4 separate regions of the Homo sapiens genome follow, and regions 2, 3 and 4 are each linked to region 1. The links are contacts of gene promoters, found by promoter capture Hi-C in human tissues and cell types (Jung and others, 2019). All regions are on one chromosome and are shown on one strand. Each heading gives the region's core, a stretch centred on a gene start or on the middle of the fragment in contact. The rest is flanking DNA. Distances are from core to core; before and after follow the strand shown.

What was found. Contacts are between HindIII fragments. The study calls those that stand out against the background at their distance.
Region 2: a contact is called between a fragment that was not itself captured here and the fragment with the promoter of LAMC2 in region 1, in 3 of the 25 tissues and cell types used here (H1 embryonic stem cells, IMR-90 fibroblasts and aorta).
Region 3: a contact is called between a fragment that was not itself captured here and the fragment with the promoter of LAMC2 in region 1, in 1 of the 25 tissues and cell types used here (pancreas).
Region 4: a contact is called between a fragment that was not itself captured here and the fragment with the promoter of LAMC2 in region 1, in 1 of the 25 tissues and cell types used here (aorta).

The regions. Positions count from the first base shown.
Region 1 is chr1:183,184,872-183,187,771 of GRCh38, forward strand. It overlaps LAMC2 (laminin subunit gamma 2), which reads left to right and starts at 1,393. Exons shown (of 23, transcript NM_005562.3): 1 at 1,393-1,560. The coding sequence starts at 1,482. RefSeq lists enhancers at 678-1,260, 763-1,962 and a silencer at 1,367-1,436. The HindIII fragment of the contact is 15,048 bases long and covers 1-2,900 here.
Region 2 is chr1:183,003,032-183,005,931 of GRCh38, forward strand. No RefSeq gene overlaps it. Among named protein-coding and RNA genes, the nearest start is that of LAMC1, 19 kb to the right of the region's middle. The HindIII fragment of the contact is 3,870 bases long and covers 1-2,900 here.
Region 3 is chr1:183,333,193-183,336,092 of GRCh38, forward strand. The region is part of intron 1 of NMNAT2 (nicotinamide nucleotide adenylyltransferase 2); the gene reads right to left. Among named protein-coding and RNA genes, the nearest start is that of NMNAT2, 84 kb to the right of the region's middle. The HindIII fragment of the contact is 4,013 bases long and covers 1-2,900 here.
Region 4 is chr1:183,041,788-183,044,687 of GRCh38, forward strand. All of the region lies in intron 1 of LAMC1 (laminin subunit gamma 1), which reads left to right. Among named protein-coding and RNA genes, the nearest start is that of LAMC1, 20 kb to the left of the region's middle. The HindIII fragment of the contact is 6,365 bases long and covers 1-2,900 here.

The sequences.
Region 1 (2,900 bases), core at 143-2,642:
GTTGTCATCCACAGAACAATCTGGAGAATATTCATATATTTAGTCAGCAAATAGCTATTTATTGGGGGCCTTTGTAGGCCTCAATGTTGAGAAGAAGGGTTGGTTGTTTTGGACAGATTGTGTATTTATAAAGCTCTAGCAATTTTTAAATCTCTAGCAGGAACCAAAGCCTTCTTGACAGCCACCTCTCTGAATTATTGTCACTAGCCTCCTTAGGAGAAGAGACAATATAGTTTATACCAAGATTTGCAGTTGTCTAGATATTACTCACTTCAGCTAGCACTGTGCTAGTAGATAACATTCAAAGTTGGTCTCAACAAATATTTTCTCTAGTGCCCATGGAGAGTGGCTGAGAAATACACTCTAAGATGTAAAAGAGTTTGGTATCTAGATCCTCTTTCTTATTCATTTCAAGCCAATATTTATTAAGCACCAACTGCAAGCTAGATACTATTATAGTTAGGAATATAAAGTGGGCCAGGGATGGTGTTTATGCCTATAATCCCAGCACTTTGGGAGGCCAAGGCAGGAGGATTACTTGAGGCCAGGAATTCAAGGTCAGCCTGCCCAACACAGCAAGACCTCGTCTCTACAAAAAATTAAAAAATTAGCTGGGTGTGGTGGCATTTGCCTGTAGCCCTAGCTACTCAAGAGGCTGAGGTGGGAGGATTGCTTGAGCCCAGGGGTTGGAGGCTGCAGTGCGCTATGATGGTGCCATTGAAAACAAAAACAAAAACCAACCAACAAACAAAAAAACAAACAAAAAGAAAACGATACTCAGTCTTTATAGGGAGGTTGGCCAGTCAATAGGTTACTTTATGAGTTGCTAACCCTGGTGAGCAGGAAGTTATGTGGACCAGGAGAGAAACCCTTGGTTCAGCCTGGAGAAAGGAGAGGTTGACCCTAAACTGGAGGGTGGAGAGGACCCTGTTGTGACTCTCCGACTGACTTGTCTTCCTTGATGTCCTTTAAGCCGGAGCTGATTCGGGCTGCTGCCTTATTTCTGAGTTAGCGCTCTTAAGATTGGGCCTCCCAGTTTGAGGAAGGGGCGGGCTGCTGTCTACCTCTGTGAATCTGCCCTGGACCACCCCGGGAGAGAAGGAGGGCTCCGGGGAATCTCGCACATTCCAGGCAAAGGCTCCCGGGCCGCAGCCTCTGTGCCACACCCTTGGCCCGGGCCAGGTGTGCGCCCTCCTCGCTGCGAGGGGGAGCGGGCGGCTGCGGGGAGCGATTTTCCAGCCCGGTTTGTGCTCTGTGTGTTTGTCTGCCTCTGGAGGGCTGGGTCCTCCTTATTCACAGGTGAGTCACACCCTGAAACACAGGCTCTCTTCCTGTCAGGACTGAGTCAGGTAGAAGAGTCGATAAAACCACCTGATCAAGGAAAAGGAAGGCACAGCGGAGCGCAGAGTGAGAACCACCAACCGAGGCGCCGGGCAGCGACCCCTGCAGCGGAGACAGAGACTGAGCGGCCCGGCCCCGCCATGCCTGCGCTCTGGCTGGGCTGCTGCCTCTGCTTCTCGCTCCTCCTGCCCGCAGCCCGGGCCACCTCCAGGAGGGAAGGTGAGTCGGCTTCCACAAGGAAACATCTCAGCCCTGGGCTGAGAATCTGCCTTTCTCTGCAGACCGTGATGGCTGAACGTACCTCCGAGGATTCCCACTTTGTCCAGAAACTTGTTAGAGCTCCCTTCTCCTCCCCTATCTGGGGCTCCTCCAGAGACGGATTTTAAATGAGACTAATATATAAAGCTATCTGCTTTTTAAAAATAGTAAGACAATAAGCTGTGACAAAAGAGGGTCTTCCTTACCTTAAAAATGTTCCTTCTTGATGTCTTTTTTCGACCAAGGGGCCGCTATTTAATCAATAATGTGTTGTTATATACGTTCTTTCCCCAGCGTGTGCTTTTATTAAAAGGTTTTGGTGGCAATGTTTCCCATGACTGTGAACACCACAAAGATTGCAAAGGAACCTCTTCAATAATCCTGTAATTGATGTTTCAAATTTCGGATGGAAAAATGAGCCTTAATAGTATTAGCAATACCCTTAACTTTTGCATCACGTTACTTTTCATAGTATTTTCATGTAATATTCATTCAACAGGCACTTACTGGGCACCTGTGTCATATATCATTTGATCTTATCTAGGGCACCTAGTTGGCTGTCATGTGTTAGACGTTAAGTTCATGTAAACAAAACTTTGTGAGAACCTAGCAACTCTTAACTGTAAGCATGTGTCAGCTATGGCAACATTTTATGGGTGTTTTCCTTGTCACTTAGTTCTATGGATATATGCCTGTATAATTGCCCTGATGTTTTATGTTTATATTGCATCCTGCATCTGATGGCGTTTCAATCATTCTTTCAATAGGTCCAAGACCAAGAGCCATTTCCACACAAGTGCATGCATGAATATGAGATAATGCTCACATGCACATGCAATTGTATAAGCCATTCCCAATATTATTGTGCATTCCGGGTGATGCTGGCCTGAATTGGATTTGAGTGGCATGAATAATGTTTGAGCATGTGTTTGAATGCAATGCTACAGTCCTTTTTGTCTAAAAAAGTCTTGGAATTAACTTCCAACCTATCATCTCTGACTACCATTTTCAAAACCATGTATGATTGCCACCAAAAAAAAAAAAAAGGTGGAGATAAGTATGTGAAATAATGAACATATTAATTTGCCTGACTAGAATACTATTTTACTGTGTATATCGAAACATCATGTTGTATACCTTAAATATATATAGTTTTAAAAAGTGATAAATAAAAGGTTCTGAAAATGGTCATGAAGGGTATGTTCTCTTAGGGCTGGGATAAGAAGTCTCAGCCTAATGGAAGACATCCCCAAAGTAAAAATAGTCTCTGAATATTAGAATTTAAAGGGACTGCTTATGGA
Region 2 (2,900 bases), core at 154-2,653, 180 kb before region 1:
ACGAGTTAGTCAGTAGGGGAAAAAAGAGAATCTAGGAGTTTTTTGTTTTTTTTTTTACAAAAAAAAAGAAAGGAAAAAGATTTCCTCAAAGTTAAATTAATGCACATAAGAATATCAAAAAATACAGCAAAGATACTTTGTCAAAACCAAGCAACACTTAAACACAAAACATTAATTTATGTTAACTTTATGTAAGTAAGTTATTTTGAAAGTCAACTCTAAAGATTATGTTCAGAAACTTCTATTTATGCTATTTTTGTTTTCTACACATTATTTTAGTAATAAGGGCTATATCCTCCCATGAGATCTACAGGGCGGATATTAGATAAGCCACAGATGAGTTAACTTGTTTTGGCTTGAATGAGGAAATGTGGCAGCTCCAGATGCTTCCATGCTCCGAGCACATCGGATCCAGTAGGCAAGAGAAACTGGGCTAAGACTCAAAGAAGGGAGGTGCTTTTAGCTAATAACAAAGTCTACTCTTCCAGTGTTTCTGTAGGCAAGGATTTTTTTTTAAGAAAAATATTATTACAACATAGTTATAGATTCGTTCTTGGTAAACAAACTTCAACAAAGGATGATCCAAAAGGCTTGAATTTCTAGCTGCAGAAAGAGTTATTTTTACTCTTCAGTCTGTTCCCGTGACTTTTTTCCCTACCTTTGTTAATGGCTTCACCATCCATTGAACTGACCAAGCTAGAAACCTCAAATTTATTCTCCACAGCTCCTTCTCCCTCACCCTCTTTTGCTACTGGTTTTAGTTTTACTCATTCGCCCATTCTGTCATCTAAGTAGATATATTTATTATATCTACTTATATATCTACTATATCTACATGTATAACACATCTGTTATAACCTCCATGGCCTCTTCTAAAGGTTGAGCCTCTCACCTCTCTGGACTATATGACCATCTCCTAGATGGTTTTACTGCCCCTGATAAAGTTATTTATTTGCCTAAAAACCACCAATGGCTCACCCTCATCTACAGATCAGAATACAACCTCTTTAGCATATCTGCGCTCTCCCCAATCTGTATAATCACCTATTTTCTTCTACTTCCCTGAAAACCTCTACTCTGTCAGTTTCTTCTCACCATTCCCCAGACATCTCCAGCATATCCAGCTCTTACATATTTCAGTGTTTTTGTATGTGATGTTCCTTTAACTTGCAGTCCTTCCTCTGCCTTCATTACATGACCAATCCTAAGGCTTCCTTTACTCCCAGCACAAATGTGGCCTCTCTCTCTGAAAGATGTCTTGACTCCTCAAATAATTAACTACTCCCATTTCATATTTGTGGCAGAGATTCTTGCTCCTCATTGAATAGAGTCTTTTGATGCTGCACATTTGCCAGCTCCTTTCCAGTGCGGTAAGGCCATGTGACTTCTTCTGGTCAAAGGGCTGTGAGTGGAAGTGAGATGCGCCACTTCTGATCCAAAACACCTAAGAGTTGGTGCATGACCCTCCAACTCTCTCTTCTCTTGGCAAGTGTAAAGGTCTTGTGATGGGATGGTAAAACCACAAGATGGAAATGGCCTAAACAGACCACATGTAGGGAGCTGCTCTGGGAAGTCCTCTGATCCTGCATTAGGCTTCATGTAAGCAAGAAATAAACTTTTGTTGGTTAAGTCACTGAACTTTGGGGTTTATTCACTACCGCAGTGTAAACTCCCCTAACCAGCCTAACTCAACATCCTACATATCTCTATTTAGCCTTTTGTTTTACAAAACTATAATAATGGATATTATTCTGTATTGTTAACCCCAAGGTCAGGCACTACACCTTATTTAGCATCTAACACAGTATTATAAAGAAAATTGAACTTGAAAACTGGACTCTGCATCTTCAAACTTAATTTCCAAACCTGTTCTCCTTCCAGTGCTTCTAATCTCAGTAAATGGCATCATCACTAACCCAGTCACTCAATCCAGAATATAGAAGTATATTTCTTACGTCTTTTCAAGCTTCTAAAGCCAGAAAATACCTTGGAGGTTCTTATTCTACCTCCCAAGTATATCTTAAGTTTGCCATGTTTCTCCATTCTCTCATTCATCACTTTCTACCTCTTACTGGAGTGGTAGCCACCAGCTTTCTTTATATTTATATATATATATATACACACACACACACACACACACATATAGAGACATATATGTATATACACACACACACACATGCACATATATAAGCTTTCTTTTTATACACACATATGTAACATTATTAGGTAAATATATATGTATATTAACTTCAATAGCTTTTGGGGTATAAGTGGTTTTTGGTGACACAGATGAATTGTATAGGGGTGAAGTCTGAGATTTTAGTGCACCTGTCACCCGAGTAGTGTACATTAAACCCAATATGTAGTTTTTTCTTAAATCCCTCTTTCCACTCCCACTCATTCCCTTTCTGAGTCTTCAAAGTCCATTATACCACCCAGTATGCCTTTGGGTACCCATAGCTTAGCTCCTATTTATAAGTGGGAACATGCAGTATTTGGTTTTCCACTCCTGAGTTACTTCACTTAGAATAATGGCCTCCCGCTCCACCCAATTCATTGCAAAAGACGTAATTGTGTTCCTTTTTATGGCTGAGTAGTATTCCATGGTGTATACAGACCACATTTTCTTTATTCATTCATTGGTTGATGGGCACTTAGGTTGGTTCCATATCTTTGCAATTGTGAATTGTGCTGCGATAAACATATGTGTGCAGTGTCTTTTCGATGTGACTTCTTTTCCTTTGGGTAGATACCCAGGATTGGAATTGCTGGATTGAATGGTAGGTCTACTTTTAGTTCTTTAAGAAATCTCCATACTGTTTTCCATGGAGGTTGTACTAATTTACATTCCCACTAGCAGTGTATAAGCATTCCCTTTTCATCACACCCATGTCAACATT
Region 3 (2,900 bases), core at 205-2,704, 150 kb after region 1:
GTCACTCCAGCACTCAGAGGCATTTACTGAACATCTTCAGAGAGGTCCTTGGGCCAAAAGAAAACTCAGGCTGGAGTGGGATGAGAGGGTCATCTCTACTATGGTAGGCAGAATAACTGCCCCCATGAAGATATCCACATCCTAATCCCCAGAATCTGAGAGTATGTTATCTTACATGGCAGAAGGGACTTTACAGATGTGATTCAGTTAAGGATCTTCAAATGGGAAGATAATCCTGATTATTTAACTTAAGGATCCTTATAAGAGGGAGGCTGGATTGTCAGAGTCAGAGAAGGAGATGTGAGGAAAGAAGCAGAGGTCAGAGTAATGTGGGGCCATGAGCCAAGGAGCGCAAGCAGTCTCTGAAAGGTGGAAATGGGCAGGAAACAGATTCTCCCCTAGAGCCTCTAAAAGCAATGCAGCCCACCTAATTTGTTTTGGACTTCTGGCTTCCAGAACTGTAAGATAATACATTTGTATTGTTTTAAGCCACTAAATTTCTGGTAATTTGTAACAGCAATAATAGGAAACGAATACACTTTCTAAGCAGCTTGACTTGCACATAACTCAAGTCATTGCTGGATAAACCTGAAACATGGTGCTCCTTTTGGCTTTCTTCACAGATAATCTGCTGCTGGTGCTTCCCCCTCCTGACTTATAAATGCTGCCATTAGCTCTGTCATTTCCAGCTGTGTTCTTGTTCTCTTCAACTATCTCCGGGATCCACCAATGCTGTCTAATTGTCCCCAGTAAGTAAGAAAACTGAAAGGAGAAAATGATCTCATTGTTCCCAGTTAAGTAAGAAAGCCGAAAGGAGAAAGTGATAAAGACAAGTGCAGAGGCTTTGGGAAATGTGCACGATGCCTCTTCCTCACCGTCTCATTTTTTTTGAGACGGTGTCTTGCTCTGTCACTTAGGCTGGAATGCAGTGGCACGATCTCGGCTCACTGAAACCACCGTCTCTTTCGGGCTCAAGCAATTCTCCTGCCTCACTCTTCCGAGTAGCTGGGATTACAGGAGCACAACACCATGCCCGACTAACTGCTGTATTTTTAGTAGACACAGGGTTTCACCATATTGGCCAGGCTGGTCTCAGACTCCTGACCTCAGGAGATCCATCCGCCTCAGCCTTCCAAAGCGCTGGGATTACAGGCGTGAGCCACCATACCCGGCCCTGTTGAATTTCAATAGACTCCTTGCTTTCTATGACAGCCTCCTCAGACTGAAAGCCCAGATTCAACTAAGTTTATTTCAACACACTCAAGAGTCTGTGTCGCCACAGGGCCGGTGGAAGCAGGTGAGTTAGGTACAAGGCCACCCATTCTTTTTTTTTTTCTTTTGAGACAGAATCTTGCTCTGTCTCCCAGGCTGGAGTACAGTGGCATCATCTCAGTGCAACCTCCGCCTCCCAGGTTCAAGCGATTCTCCTGCCTCAGCCTCCTGAGTAGTTGGGATTACAGGCACCCACCACCAAGCCCAGCTAATTTTTGTATTTTTAGTGGAGATGGGGTTTCACCATGTTGGCCAGGCTGGTCTCGAACTCCTGACCTCAAGTGATCCGCCCATCTCAGCCTCCCAAAGTGCTGGGATTACAGGCATGAGCCACCGCACCTGGCCCAAGGCCACCCATTCTTCAGGTCGTGACCCAAACTGCCAGGACAGCTAAGCCCTGGGGTTGGGAGACTCCACGGTGCCCTAGTAAGGAAGCTCTGGGCTGACTTCCTGTCTGTTCTGGGTCAGGAAAAAGTTACATGATATTGTCCTAAGTGGAGAGAGTTAAGGAACTGGAGCACAACTTGGAATTAGATTAACATAAAAATCTGATTCAGCCAGGTCTCTCAGCTCCTCACTACATCAATTAATAACAATTGTCAAGTATAACCTACCAGGTACCTTACAGGTATCTCCTCATTTAATCCACTGAACTGTTGCATTATTCCCGTTTTACTGGGCTTCTGTGAAAAGTCACCGAACAATCACAACCAAAATAACAATTCCCCAAACAACTAGTTTCCTTCTTCTTGTTAGATCCCGTCTCTGTTAACAGCAACACCATCTACTCAGATGTCCAAATTAAAAAGTTCTGGTAGAAACAACATGGTCTCTTTCTACTCTATACCTCTGCACAAATCCGGCCCTATGTCTTGAAAAATCTATACCTCCAGCTGTGGATGCAAATAGGAAGGAAATAGCCCTTCACTCATTAGTGTAAAATGTGAATGAACCACCAACATGGCCACCACCTGAGTCTCCTCTGCACCCCTCTGTGGCAAGGTGATGTGAGGAAGCTCTTTTTCTGATTATGGATGCTTTTGCAACAGCCAAGCTTGAAGATGTTTCTGCTGTAGTCATCTTCAGTTCCAGCTTGGCTATGTTTCCTTGGGATAGACATGGGAGAAATGTCTATATAATGCCTTCCTAAAGCTTGGGAAAAATAGAACTTCCCTGGTGTCCCAGGATGGGGTTAGTTGATCATGCCTTTGTGCTGCCACATTGCGCATACTCCTTTTTGCAGTTATCCCTGTGTACTTCATTCATTTTATTTCATTATTTTTACTATATGTTTTGCCAACTAGATTATAGGGTCTCAGAAGTCAGGATCATGTCTAATATATCTTCTGATCCCAAGTCTAACCAGTGCTTGACACATTACAGGCACCCATCAATGTTTGTTGGATAAATAATCTGTGAATACAATAGGCTGGCCTATCTTTGGGCACAGGATGATCTCAGGAGATACGGAGGTTTACAAGGAGAGTAGGAGGGAGAGACCTTCACAACAAGGGTATCTGAACTCTGTGAAACTCATTTCTGTGAGAAACTAAAAGAGTCTGAAATTCTTCCCTAAATGTGTGTGATTTCTTCTCATACCAACTTTATTCCCTGGCAACAGGCTGTAA
Region 4 (2,900 bases), core at 254-2,753, 140 kb before region 1:
TTTATGCCCCTAGTGTACGGCATAATACCTTTTATATGGTAGTAGGGGTTCAAAAAAGTTTGCTGAATGAGTGAATTTCTATTTCTTTGAGGCTATGGACACAGAATGCAGATGAGTGCAAGAAACAGCAATTTTGTTTAGGTTTTCCCATGATGGAATTTGCCTTGTAGATAGGGTTTTTAAAATTGATCAGGCAGAATAGGATGGCTAGTACATGGTATAGTTTCCTCACCAGCATTGTTAGATGAAGAGTAAGTCACTGTATCAAAGAGCCCCAGTATAAAGTAATAAAGTAAATAAAAACCCAGTTTTAAATCATTGAAGTTTGTTTCTCCTTCAGGTGGTAATTCTGAGGTCAGTGGTTCAGGACAGCAGGGTAGTTCTCCACGCTGACATTCAGGGACTCATGAGTGTTTCCTGGAAATAATCTGGGATCCTTTAGGGTATCATTCTTATGTGCCTGGTTGAGGCTGGGTGATAGGCCCCTGTGCTTTCCAATTGGGAAGATATTGAGGAGTGTGTGCCTAAATCTTAACACTTGAAAATCTTACCTCCCCAAAGTGCCATAACACCTGAAAGTGTATTATCTGCCACCAGAGAGAGCTTAGTCACTTGGCCACCTCATAAACACAGTAGAGGCTGGAAAATGGGGTCTAGCTGGGTGGTCTTGTGCCTGGCCACAGATCTATTACAGTGATGGATGGGTTGGTGGGGAGAGAACAGATTTTTGGCAGACAGCTCTGCCATGCCAACTCCTGTGCTGAAGAGTCTGGTTTCTCCCAAGTTCTGGTCTTTCTGGAGAGTCTTCAGAGGTTCCCATTCTGTGGCTGGCAGTTGTAGGGAGTGGATATAGAAAAATAGGGACCACGCTCACTGTGGATCCTCACAACTTTAGCTTTTCAGTAAAAGAGCCTCTGAAGAAAGGGTGTGTACTCATTCTGCTCTTAGTGCACAGCCTTCACTCCCTGACTTTACAGAATTGGTTTATTCTTTGACCTTTTCCATTTTCACACCCCCAGCCCTCTCCTGGCACTGAGATCCCACTGTACCTTCTTGGTGTTGTGTACTTACACTGATGGGCTCTATGTCTATCTGCCTCGGAGGAGCACATCCCACATGGGCATTGTCTGAATTCACTTGACGATGCTGATGGTGTTTACCTTCAGCTGTGACAGACCAATCAGAGCTGTTTTAAAATCCAGATGTCTTTTAGGAATGAGAGTTCCAGAAGTGATAAATCAGTGCTTTTTGTGGCTTGAACATATACAGTTTTGTTGTGGAATCTTCTTAAATGTATATTTATCTTTTTCTTCATTGCGAGTTCATTGAAGGCAGCTGTGAATCATGTTTTAACCATTAATTAGGTGTCCAACTTAGAGTGGGGTGCTTATGATCTAGTAGATTTAGGAAGATGGGTGTATGTTACATAACACCCTCAGCAGGACCCCCATCTCCAAGCAATTGAATATATCTGCAGTAAAATGTATTCGTACGAAACAGACTGATGAAAGGCTATCATAGCCTCACACTAGGTCATGTATTGTTGTCACACATTATGAAAATCTCCTGCTGTTTAGGGCTTTTTGAATTGAGAATCACAGATGAAGGATTATGGACTTATATCACATTTGATTACGTAAGTTATATCACTTTTACAGATAGTGATAAAACTACTGAAGACTATATAAAAATGTGAACAATAGGCATCTGGTAAATTGGTTATCTAAATAAGCAGATAAAGTTTAATAGGAAATTTCATTTCATTGAAAGGGTGAATTTTGACATGTTCTAACAATTTGAGTGAATGGATTATGAAATTATGGTAACAATATTTAGAACTACAGATAGGGCATTACATAAATGTTTAAAAGAAGAAAAGAAATAGGGTTGAATTCTGATAAAAAGTGACCTATTAGAAAAGTATTTCTATTCCTCTAGGGACATCCGTTCAATTTTTGTTGTTGCTTCATTGATTTTTGTAAAAAGGTGTTGCCTTTTAAAAATCATTTTAGAAAGGCAATGTCATTTTTAATGACATTACTACCATGCATAGTTTTGTGAGAAACCTGGCTATGTTAAAGCCATTTCATTTGAGATACATTTTGAATTGAAAGTTATTCTGTTGTTCTTGTTTTCAGAAGCAGATAATTTTGGCGATGTCTGTGTCCTTCTTGTCTGCTCTTTATCTGTTTACCTACCTGCTTATCACAACTAACTTTCTGTCCAGTTTTTTTTAATCCTTAGTAAATCAGTGTCTAGGAATCTTTAGTCACTCAGTTTTGAGGATGACTGTGTAAATGGTTATAAATGATTGCTTTTGCCTGTTGTGTTCTGTCAGCTTGGTTTTTGCTTTCTAAAAGATTACAGTCTCCTTGAATTGACATCTTTCTTTTTTATTTTTTTAAAGTCAAACTCATTCTCTTTATTTGTGCAGAGTCCTTTGCCCAAAATACATCATGTTGTCCTCTGGGCTTTACTGTCCTAGTTTCTTTTGGAAGAAAAATGCCTTCTCTATAAATTCTTCCCCACATCTTAGAAGTGTGACACAGCAGTGCTTACTGTATCACTCATTGGTCACTTGAGCATACCATCTTCTTTGGGAATCTTTTTTATGTTTATTTATTTTCATATGCACCCAGCGTGGGAACCGTGTTTTAAACCATTAGGTCAGTAACTTAGAGCTGGGTACTTGACTCGTAAAACGATAGGCATTTAAATATTCTTTGGCTCTTTTGATGAATCAGAAGATTCAATTCTAAACTGACAGAGAAACCTAGGACTAAATTAAAAAAATATATCCAGGCCATGGCTTTGGAAGGGTGTTTGGAAGAGCTGTGTTCACTAATCATTGGAGAAAGGCCACGGAGCTATTTCCTCAAGATTTAAGACATCCCCCTTTT